Regions from separate parts of the Homo sapiens genome. Here region 2 is linked to region 1. Evidence: promoter capture Hi-C in human tissues and cell types (Jung and others, 2019). All regions are on one chromosome and are shown on one strand. The core of a region is centred on a gene start or on the middle of the fragment in contact, and the rest is flanking DNA. Distances in the headings are between cores, read along the strand shown.

Evidence for each region. Contacts are between HindIII fragments. The study calls those that stand out against the background at their distance.
Region 2: a contact is called between the fragment with the promoter of SLC35A3 here and a fragment that was not itself captured in region 1, in 1 of the 25 tissues and cell types used here (mesendoderm cells).

The regions. Positions count from the first base shown.
Region 1 is chr1:100,459,393-100,464,608 of GRCh38, forward strand. CDC14A (cell division cycle 14A) reads left to right here. Exons shown (of 16, transcript NM_003672.4): 9 at 3,259-3,489. Among named protein-coding and RNA genes, the nearest start is that of GPR88, 76 kb to the right of the region's middle. RefSeq lists enhancers at 2,756-3,377, 4,656-4,745. The HindIII fragment of the contact is 3,820 bases long and covers 1,020-4,839 here.
Region 2 is chr1:99,967,046-99,972,261 of GRCh38, forward strand. It overlaps SLC35A3 (solute carrier family 35 member A3), which reads left to right and starts at 2,951. Exons shown (of 8, transcript NM_012243.3): 1 at 2,951-3,117. All of the region lies in intron 1 of LOC124904230 (a long non-coding RNA gene), which reads right to left. RefSeq lists enhancers at 2,431-2,480, 2,541-2,590, 3,311-3,400 and a silencer at 2,991-3,190. The HindIII fragment of the contact is 9,355 bases long and covers 1-5,216 here.

The DNA of each region.
Region 1 (5,216 bases), core at 1,680-4,179:
GCCTTGCAGAGTATTGGGCACACATAATAGGCGTTTATTAGATAGCAGGTATTATGGTTACATTTTTATCATTAGCTGGCCTAATCAACAGATTTTATGTCTTTCTACATTTGCCTGCTCAGTTTGCAGTTTTTACTTTTAATAATGACTGAGTGAACTAGTCATTTGACTCTGCTGTTCTTCAGTTTTCGAACTTTAAAATGAGGGCCTGGGAAGAGATGAATAAAAACATCTCTTTTGACTCTGATACCGTGTTCATGTGTTTGGTCAGCTTAACTCCAGGACTTTGTTGTGGTTCAGTGATGCCAGCGCACCATCTTGTGGCCAGATGGAGTAAGGGTCGGATGAAGGCTCCATAAGTTCTGGGTCGGCACATTATACACATTGCTAAAACCAATCTCTCGCAAAAAGCACTCACGTACATCCGTAAAAGCCACAAACAGTTGTTCACAGGTCATAGGACATTTCCATTGTTCGTTATAATTTATTCTAAACAGTTTTAAGGATTTTTATAAAACCTACTCACCAATTCTAACCGCTCATGTTCATATCATGTTCTCTTATTTGGAGTCTTAACAGATAGAATCAAGTTGAATCTTACTTGAAATTAGCCCCAGCATGGGTGTTGGAATCTGACTGCCAGGATTGAAATACTGGCTCTACCTCTTACTAGCTGTATGTGTACGGGCCAGCTTTTCCAGGCACCAGAAATTGAGTAATTGTAGGTTTTAATGAGATAATCCACATAAAGCACTTAGCATAGTGGCTAGCATATAGTAAGTGCTTGATAAACGTTAGGTGCAATTATTGTTGTTATTATTATTTCAGTGCCCTGTTGCCATATTTGGACAATTTCTGTCCAGTGTTTTCTTCTCAAAAGATGTATACATCGTTTCTCTTAATAGTCTATTTAGGCATGTTAGCTATGCTGCCATTTACTCATGATGGAAATTCATATATGAAAAGAGAGATTCTTGCAGCCTTTGTTGCAGGGAGGAAGGGGATAGGCACTGAACCAATTGCTAACACAACGTGTGACAGGTGCTGTCATGGAGGTCCCAGGCATGCTAGCAACCCAGAGGCAGAAGCTCTCACCAGCCCGCCACACCAGGGCAGGCTGCCCAGGTGTTTATGAGCCCTTCTCCTCCCCATTCCTCACATGATAGAAAAACCGTTACTTCTTAATGCCAACTACAGTTCTTTTTTTGCTTTAGGCTATAAATCTGTTGCAGGGAAATAATTTGAGCAAGTAAACCAACTAGGAAAACAGACTTGATTTTTGCAGTTAGAAAAGCATGTTTTCTCCATGTTTGTGTAGGTTATTGTTTCTACACAGAAGATTTTAAATAAGCTCTGTTTTACCTGTTTGCTCAAAAGCAACATAGCCTGTGAAAATCACATATCTGAGCTGTGGATTAATTGGTCCTGCCTTCCAATTCTGTCTTCATCCTTTGTGTGACCTGGCCAAGTGTACCAGTTATGGCTGTCCAACTCTGGTAAAAGGCAGTTTTTGGAATATGTTGGGTAGCTCATAGACTTTAAGAAAAGGCTGGAGAACTAGGCTTAGAAGATGAACAGGACCCAAGTGGGAAAATGGGAACCACACTAGGCATTTCAAACATAAAGCATTTAATACAAGGAGTTTATTTCAAAGAAGACTAAAAAGTAAAAAGGCAACACTGAAGAAACCAGAATATGTTGGAGAAAACAGCTAGTACCTTTAAGGCTGGGGGGACAAAAGGGACAAAAGTGGAGTTAGCAGAACCTGCTCCTGTTTTCTGCTGCTGAAGTGATGCTGCCAGGAGGACAGGAAGAATTCCCTTCCTCCTCCTCAGGTTGAGGTTTAGTGCCTCCCATTTTTACAACCAATAGGAAGCCAGATAGAAAGGTAGTCTGGGAAATGTAGGGCGTAGTATATGGACTCCAGCCCCAGTGTCACAGAGCATAAGAGTCGGCTTGGAGCTGAGAGCTGACTAGCATAACAGGGATCCAAGGCAGCAAGAAATACAGCCAAGCACACAGCGTGGAAACAGTCTGGTTCACTTTGCTGGCTGCCGCCACCCCTGGAACCTCCCATCATGAATGGGTTCCAACTGAGATAATTGCACTCAGCTGGTATGTTAGGGTTCAGTGAATTCTGAATGGGTTACAGATGTGGCCATCAGTGTGCTGGGAACTTAGTCCCCTGAACTTTTGGAGCTGCCATTGCAAGGCCTGCAAAGGCCAAAGCCCCCAGTGGTTGCCTTGGCTGATTAGCTAAGGCTAGGTCTGTAACCCAGCTGACTGTGTAGCTCCCAGGAATACTCACATGATGGTGGAGCCACTCAAAAATAAAAGGGGATTTAAAGGTGGAGCATCTTCCTCCCTCAAAAAAAGGAAGTGTCCACAAAAGTTATTGTTTATTTTTAACTAAAAAAATTTATATTTTAATTGATAAAAATTATATATTTATGGTGTACAACAACTTTTGAAATATGTATACATCGTAGAATGGTTAAGTCAAGTCTTACTTAAGTATTCACATATTTATCATTTTTTGTGGTGAGAAGACTTAAATTTTACTTTCTAAATGACTTTAAAGTATATAATACATTGTTATTATAGTCACTATGTTGTACAATAGATCTCTGGGACATACTCCTTTCTAACTGAAATTTTGTTTTCTTTGACCAATATCCTCCCAACACCCCCTCTTTTAGTTTCTTAATCTGTTAAATGGAATTAGCCATACTTAAGAGATGGTTTTGAGAATTTGAAATGATACGCAATTGTGACTTGTACATAGTAGGTGCTTAATAATAATTGCTTCTGGGGAGCATTGTACTACAAATTAAAACTATACATATGGCAAAAAAGCTTCAGCTGTAGTTGAAAACTGTTTGTCAAGTAGAGAATAAAGCTCAAGAGAGAATAAAGTCACCATTCTAGGTCTGTTATGCACATTTGATTACTTCAAGAATGCTTTTGTCTTGGGAGTGGGAAGAGTATGCTCCCAGGATTCGAATCTAGAGGTTGAGATTTTGAACTTTAATGATGTATTTTCAGTACTTACAGAAGTTTTCTTTTTAACCTCCTGTGGTGCTTACAGTTATGCAGATTGATGCTTGTAGGAGCTTGCTGTGACCTCTTCTCTCACACAACACACTTTCCTCCCAAGCTTTGTTGAGATTTATACACTTCATTGTTGAGAGTTTTGTATTTCTGGGTTGTGGAAGATGAAATGCATGCCTTTTGCTTACTGCTCCTTTGTTCCTTTAGGTTATCCTCTTCACGCCCCTGAAGCCTACTTTCCTTATTTCAAAAAGCATAATGTGACTGCAGTTGTGAGGCTAAACAAAAAGATTTATGAGGCAAAGCGCTTCACAGACGCTGGCTTCGAGCACTATGACCTCTTCTTCATAGATGGCAGCACACCCAGTGACAACATCGTGCGAAGGTTCCTGAACATCTGTGAGAACACCGAAGGGGCCATCGCCGTTCACTGCAAAGGTGTGTGCAAGGCCTCGGTGGTGGTGGCTGTGCTTATCGAAGGGGCGGGCCAAGGAAGAGCAAATAACATAAAACAAAACCTGTTTAGTGTCTTAGAAAAACAATGAGGTTTTAAATTTCAGACAACTGGGACACAAACTCATTTTAATAACCCCTTCTTAAAGAAACGATTGCTTGGGTGTGGACAATTGGTGGTGGTGTGGCTTTCTTGATATGCCAGTTTTTCAGACCTTACCTTTCCAGGCCCACGTGCCACAATGAGGGGAAACACAGTAGCAGTGTCTTTAGGCTGCAGGAACACCTTTAAACAGGTAAAATTCTCAAGAGACAAGGGTTGTTAGTTTTCCTCTCTCCTTTGTTTTTTTTCAGAATTGCCCATCTCTTCTCCATCCTCTTGCACTGTCGTGGTTCTGTTTTATGACCCAGTTATCTGGACCCCCATTCCAGTCTCTGCTTTTCCCTCCCCTCCTAGTCTTTGGCTTCATGGAGCAGAGCGTCTTCCATGCCTGTTGCTAGGGGCAATCCGCTAGCTTACAATGCTGCTGATGTGATGCTGCCTCATGGAATAAACTTAAAGAGTTTGTTTTGCAAAAATCTCTGATCTCTGGGGGTGGATACTTTGGGGCAGGAATTGTTCAGACTATAGAAGGTTTAGGATTGCCAGATTTAGCAAATAAAAATACAGGCTGCCTAATTAAATTTGAAAGTTAGATAAACAATGAATACTTTTAAAACAAAAAGTATAAATATGTCCCAAATATTGCAGGGAACATGCATTCTGTATTTTATCTGGCAACCCCATGTCAGCTACTCAGAAAATATGACATGCCATTTGCTCTAAGCTTGTTTGACTTCGAGGAGGCTTAAAATCCACTCCATTCCAGATCTTTCGGTATGGATAATACTGGAAATATTCCAGATATTTTACTGGGTCTTTGATTTCAGCGAGGAGAAATCACTAGGGCCGCCCTGGGCTGGAGCCTCGAGTTCCTCATGTGCAGCTCCTCCTAGTGTCGCTGGGTGGTGCTGTGCTTATGGTTTTGGGTCTAGACCCGGTTTCCCTCTCATTTTATGCTAATCATCTAGTAGGTGTTGGGGAGGGTGCTGTTCTTTTCATGTGCCTAGTGCTGCTGTAACTGACTTATTCAGACGAGTATGGCTTTGGTTCTGACAGAAATTAAAATGCCGTTTTGTAGGCCCTTGTTTCTATGTTTAAGATTTGAGTAGGTGGAGGTACTTTGTGAACATGTGAGCAAAAATGGGAAGCTGCGGTTTCCCAGAGACCCAGAGAGATGGAAATGAGCAGCACGTGGCCTGGGTTTGGAGCAGGGCTCCCCATGCCAGGCTCCCTCCTCCTGGGTGGGCAGAGCTCTCCCTCCCCACCCTCCCCATTAGCTAGCAGGATGGGCCCTGGCTTTGTGGGATATCTTGTCTCTGGCGTGGAGTCTGTTAGGAAGGTGTCACTTGCTGGCTCATTTGTGGGTGCTGCTTTCAGGCCACAGTGGGGTGCCAGTGTGTTGGCTTGTCCCCATGTGATTCATTTGCACCCTGTTTGCTTTTCCATTGCATTTTGTTCAGTATTGCCCAGGTCCAAGAAAAAGCCCACATGTCACGTATTTTAAACAGCAATAGAACTTGAGAGCTAATGGGAACGTTTATATCAACGTTTAGCAGGAGATAATCCTATCTTCTCTTTCAAACTTTAGTTTTGTGCCATAAAAATTGTA
Region 2 (5,216 bases), core at 1,701-4,200, 490 kb before region 1:
CATGCCTGTAATCCCAATACAATGGGAGGCTGAGGCAAGAAGATCACTGGAGCTCAGGAGTTTGAGACCAGCCTGCATAAAATAGTGGGAACCCATCTCTATTAAAAGTAAAAAAAAATTAGCCAGGTATGGTGGCATGTGCCTATAGTCCCAGCTACTCAGGAGGCTGAGGCAGGAGGGTTGCTTAAGTGGGAGGCTGAGGCAGGAGGACCTTGGAGGTCAAGGCTACAGTGAGCCATGATCATGCGACTGCACTCCTTCTAGAGAGAGACCCTAACTAAAAAAAAAATAAATAAAAAAAAAAGAAAGAAAAGAAAAAAGGCATAGAAATTTATTAGTGTACATGAGGAGAAATCACAGGGTGATTACTCTTATCCCCCATGTAGTACAGAAGGGTATACCATCTTTACAAAGAATGAGAGCTCCAAGCATGGCCAAAAATAGATTATGGTGGTAAATCAGGTTATAGTGGCAAAACAAGTTACGGGAGGGACAGAAGCAGAGGCCTGACTAACAAAGGTGGGTAGCAGCCCTCAGAGAGAATAGATGGTGGAAGTTTCTTTCAGACCTTTAAAAGTGTCAGAATCTCAGTAAATCTTTCCTAGATCTGGACAAGGAAGGGCCTCAGAGAAAGCCTGGCTACATTAATGCAGATTCTCCACAGATGCAAATCTGCCCTACAAGAGACAGTTTTGCAGGGCTACTGGGCTACTTTTTTTTTTTTTTTTTTTTTGAGACAGGGTCTTGCTCTATCAGCCAGGCTGGAGTACAGTAGCATGATCATGGCTTAATGTGGCCTTGAACTCCTGGGATCAAGTGATCGTCCCACCTCAGCCTCCCTCATGAGTAGCTAGGACTAAAGGCATGTACCATTATGACTGGTACATGTTTAAATTTTTATTTTTTGTAGTGATGGGATCTCAATATGTTGCTCAGGCTGGTCGCGATCTCCTGGGCTCAAGCAATCCGCTGGCCTCAGCCTCCCAAAGTCTTGGGATTACAAGCGTGAGCCACCACATCTGGCCTGCAAAGGCTACTTCTGATTGCAGGCCCTCTAAACAGTCATCTCAAAATATGTCAAAGTAGTATATTTTGGGGTAAAATATTTTGATTTCCTTCAAAGCCATTGTAGGGTTAATAATTGGCCTAATTTCAATATTGCTGTTTATTGGGAAATAGGGAGGCCCAAGGGGGAGAAGTGTGGGGAAATGGGCAGTTGGTGGAGTAGTCAGAACACACATAACATTTATTAATTAAGTTTGCCTTTCTATATGAGTGCAGTACATGGCACCTGTATTAGTCCATTTTCATGGTGCTGATAAAGACATACCCGAGACTGGGAAGAAAAAGAAGTTTAATTGGACCTACAGTTCCACATGGCGGGGGAGGCCTCAGAATCATGGCGGGAGGTGAAAGGTACTTGCTTACATGGCTGCAGCAAGAGAAAAATGAGGAAGAAGCAAAATCAGAAACCCCAGATAAACCCATCGGATTTCATGAGACTTATTCACTATCATGAGAATAGCACAGGAAAGACTGGCCCCCATGATTCAATTATCTCCCCCTAGGTCTCTCCCTCAACACGTGGGAATTCTGGGAGATACAGTTCAAGTTGAGATTTGGGTGGGGACACAGCCAAACCATATCAGCACCCCAAAACAATTACCATAGTAACATCAAAGATCATTGATCACAAAGCACTATACCAGATATAATAATGATGAACAAATTTAAATATTGCAAAAATTATTGAATATTATGTGACACAGAGACACAAAGTGAGCACATGCTGTTGGAAAAATGGCACCAATAGATGTGCTTGAGGCAAGGTTGCCACAAACCTTCAATTTGTAAAAAAAAAAAACAAAAAAACAAAAGCAATGTCTGTGAAGAGCAATAAAGCAAATCACAATAAAACGAGGCATGCTGTTATCATCATCTAACAGGCACATTTTGGTTTCAAAAAAAACTGGGCATGTATTAAGATCTAATATGTATTTTACCATCCAGGAATTTTCTCAAGACTGTATTGCAGAAAATTTTAAAACCAGTTATTCTACTCTAATACAGTTACTTATTTTTCTTCAATATCACTTTTTTTCTAAGTATGTCTCTCTTGGACATGGTTTTAATCATTTGCAATATAAAGAGACATAGGCTTAATTTATAGCAGCCCTGAGTTAACAAAAAGAGATAATCCTATTCGCTTATTTGATAATCCAGCTGAACCTGAAGTACTGATTTCAGCCTGTTCATCACCTGAATGGGCTGCCGTGGTTAGAGGGTTTCCAACACAGCTACTGGAACACTTTTAAAAGGTAATGCTGTGATCCATGCAGCCAGGAAGGGGTTGGTCCCTCATAACTCTGCAATCCTCTGGGCCCAGTTTTCTTTTTCCTCTCCCGGTTGATGACACTAGGCCCATTGGTGGTACGGCTTTGGGTTTCCTTCAGTCTCAAGATCTCAGTCAGGGTGGGTGAAGTGGAAGAACAAGCCTTCTTGCAGACCACTGGTTGGTTGGCAGCCTTTGCCATAGCTAATCTGGTTGTTTTCAGGTCAGTGACAGTCACTTTTAGGAGAGGGTTCGTTTGCTTTCAAAATCCATCTCCCCGTTCCTCTCAGGGTTCTTTGCCCCAAAGGACTTTGCCCTTCCTTACGCAGTGGACACCTTGGCACCCTCTGCAAACAGACAGTCCCGCAGAGGCCCTCGACGAGTGTCACTCCATCTGTTTCGCGCTCCTAGGAGAGGTGTAGCAGAAAGCAGTGCCCCAGGCCTCCACGCGACGGTGAAGCAGGAACCAGGGGCTGCCAGCAGAGCAGCCCAGGTGCGTCGCCTTAGGGACAGAGCTGCCAAGTGCCGAGCTGGGGCTGCCAGAGCCGAGCCGGGAACGGCATTTGCCAGAGCCGAGGCGGAAGCCGGAGCATTTGGGGGACGGGACCGCGGGAACCCGGAAACGCCTGGGCTGCACCGAGCTGGCGGTGGCTACGGCGACGGGAGCCGGCGGCGCTGCGGGTCAGCGGTCGCGTAGGACCCAGCGGACTCGGCAGCCTGGGGCGCCCGGCGGAGCTGAACCGCGGCCCCCGGTGGTGGGCTCAGCCGGTCGAGCTGCGCGGGAGGTGAGTCCTCAGCGCACCTGGGGAGGGGCGGGAACCAGGAGGCTAGCGGCTGCGGGGCGGCCCGGGAAGCTCCTGGAGGAGGAGGAAGAGGAGGCATGCGAGGGGGCTGATGTGAAGTCTGTAGGGGTGAAGGGGACGGTATCGAAGACCTGAAATACAGTGCTAGCTAAGTAGGGGTGGGAGCAGATGAGGTGACACGTTGTAACTCCGACGGACGACGTGCGGAATGTACTGGGTGGAGGAGGAAAAAAGGCCCGAGGAGAGGGGTGTGTCAAGCGAATGAAGACGGCAGTGTGTGCCTCAGCGCCTGGTGCGTGCGGAGCTAGTGACGGGTGGGCCCGGCTGGGGCCCGTCATTCCTTCAGTGAACATCCCATGAGCTCTCGCTCGGTGTTGAGCCCTGTGGTAGGCACAGATGCACCCGACCAGCACCTGGAGCTCAAGAAGCCGCAGGAACTTAAAGAAATGGAAAGGCTGCCCTTGGTAAGGCTAGTAAGAACACAAGGACTGTTTGAAGTGGGGTGAGATTCTCATCAGAACAGGTGTGTGGGTGCATTGCTTTATAGTAAAAGACGATCTTTTATTATGTTCTCTTAAATGCAGTATTTGAAAATTAAGTCTTTTCGTTTTTGAAATCAACATTCGACTTTAGTAGTTAAAGATGAAATTTGGTGCAGTTTCTTACTTGGTGTTCTTATTCACTTTCACTGGTAAACTCAGGGTGTTTCAAGGGAATGACTTGTAAACTTATATTTCTGAGGCTAACTTTCCTCCCAACTGTTGATTCTATCTCTTCAGCATCTCAAATTTAGTTCTCCCCTTTTTCATTCCCACTACCTGTCTGCTAAATATGCTCGTCTTTCCTCTTCTTACTTGCACTATAGCAATAACTTCCAAACTGGACTTGTCCTCAGCCTGGCACCCTTCCAGTCACTTGCCTCCATATTACTTTTAAAGCCAAAGATCTTATGACTTTCTTTTTTTGGTTATTCCTTCCTCAGAAATACGCAGTGACTCTCGATCGGCTTCAGAATAAAATGTAAATTATTTAGGGAGGCATTTAATAAATTTTATATTATTTAGGGAGGCTTCAGATTTTTCCTTCAGAATTTGAGTCTGACGGTGGCTCCAGTAAAATCAATATGATTCTTTTTTTTTTTTTTTAGACGGAGTCTCGCTCTGTCGCCCAGGCTGGAGTGCAGTGGCGCAATCTCAGCTCACTGCAAGCTCCGCCTCCCGGGTTCATGCCGTTCTCCTGCCTCAGCCTCCTGAGTAGCTGGGACTACAGGCGCCCGCCGCCACGCCCGGCTAATTTTTTTGTATTTTTAATAGAGACGGGGTTTCACCATGTTAGCCAGGATGGTCTCGATCTCCTGACCTCGTGATCCACCCACCTCGGCCTCTCAAAGTGCTGGGATTACAGGCGTGAGCCACCGCACCCGGCCCCCAATATGATTCTTTCTTTTTTCCTTTTATTAAACAAGTATTACTTTTTTCCACATATCCTATTTTTTAGCCAAACTAGTCGTTAATTAGACGTCCAGTTTCTGAACATGCTATATGCCTGTCAGCCTTGGTGTTTGCTTTTATCATTTCTTCCTACAAAGAAGAAACAAGGAAGGCCTTCCTTGCTGTCTTTGTAGAAATTCTACTTATTCTTCAATTCCTTAAATGCCATCTCTTTCTTATGCAGCTTTCTGAAATCTGCCATAAATCCAGTTCATTCTTTTTTTCTTTTTCTTTTTCTCTTTTTTTGAGAGAGTTTTGCTCTTGTTGCCCAGGCTGGAGTTCAATGTTGCGATCTCGGCTCACTGCAACCTCCGTCTCCCGGGTTCAAGCGATTCTCCTGCCTCAGCCTCCTGAAGTAGCTGGGATTACAGGTGCCCGCCACCACACCCAGCCAATTTTTTTGTAGTTTTAGTTGAGACGGGGTTTCACCATGTTGGCCAGGCTGGTCTTGAACTCCTGACCTCAGGTGATCCACCTGCCTCGACATCCCAAAGTGTTGGGATTACAGGCATGAGCCACTACGCCCAGCCCATTTTTTTTTCTTCATGTGTGCTGGGCTTTATAAATCTTACAACACTTGTTAAATTTGCA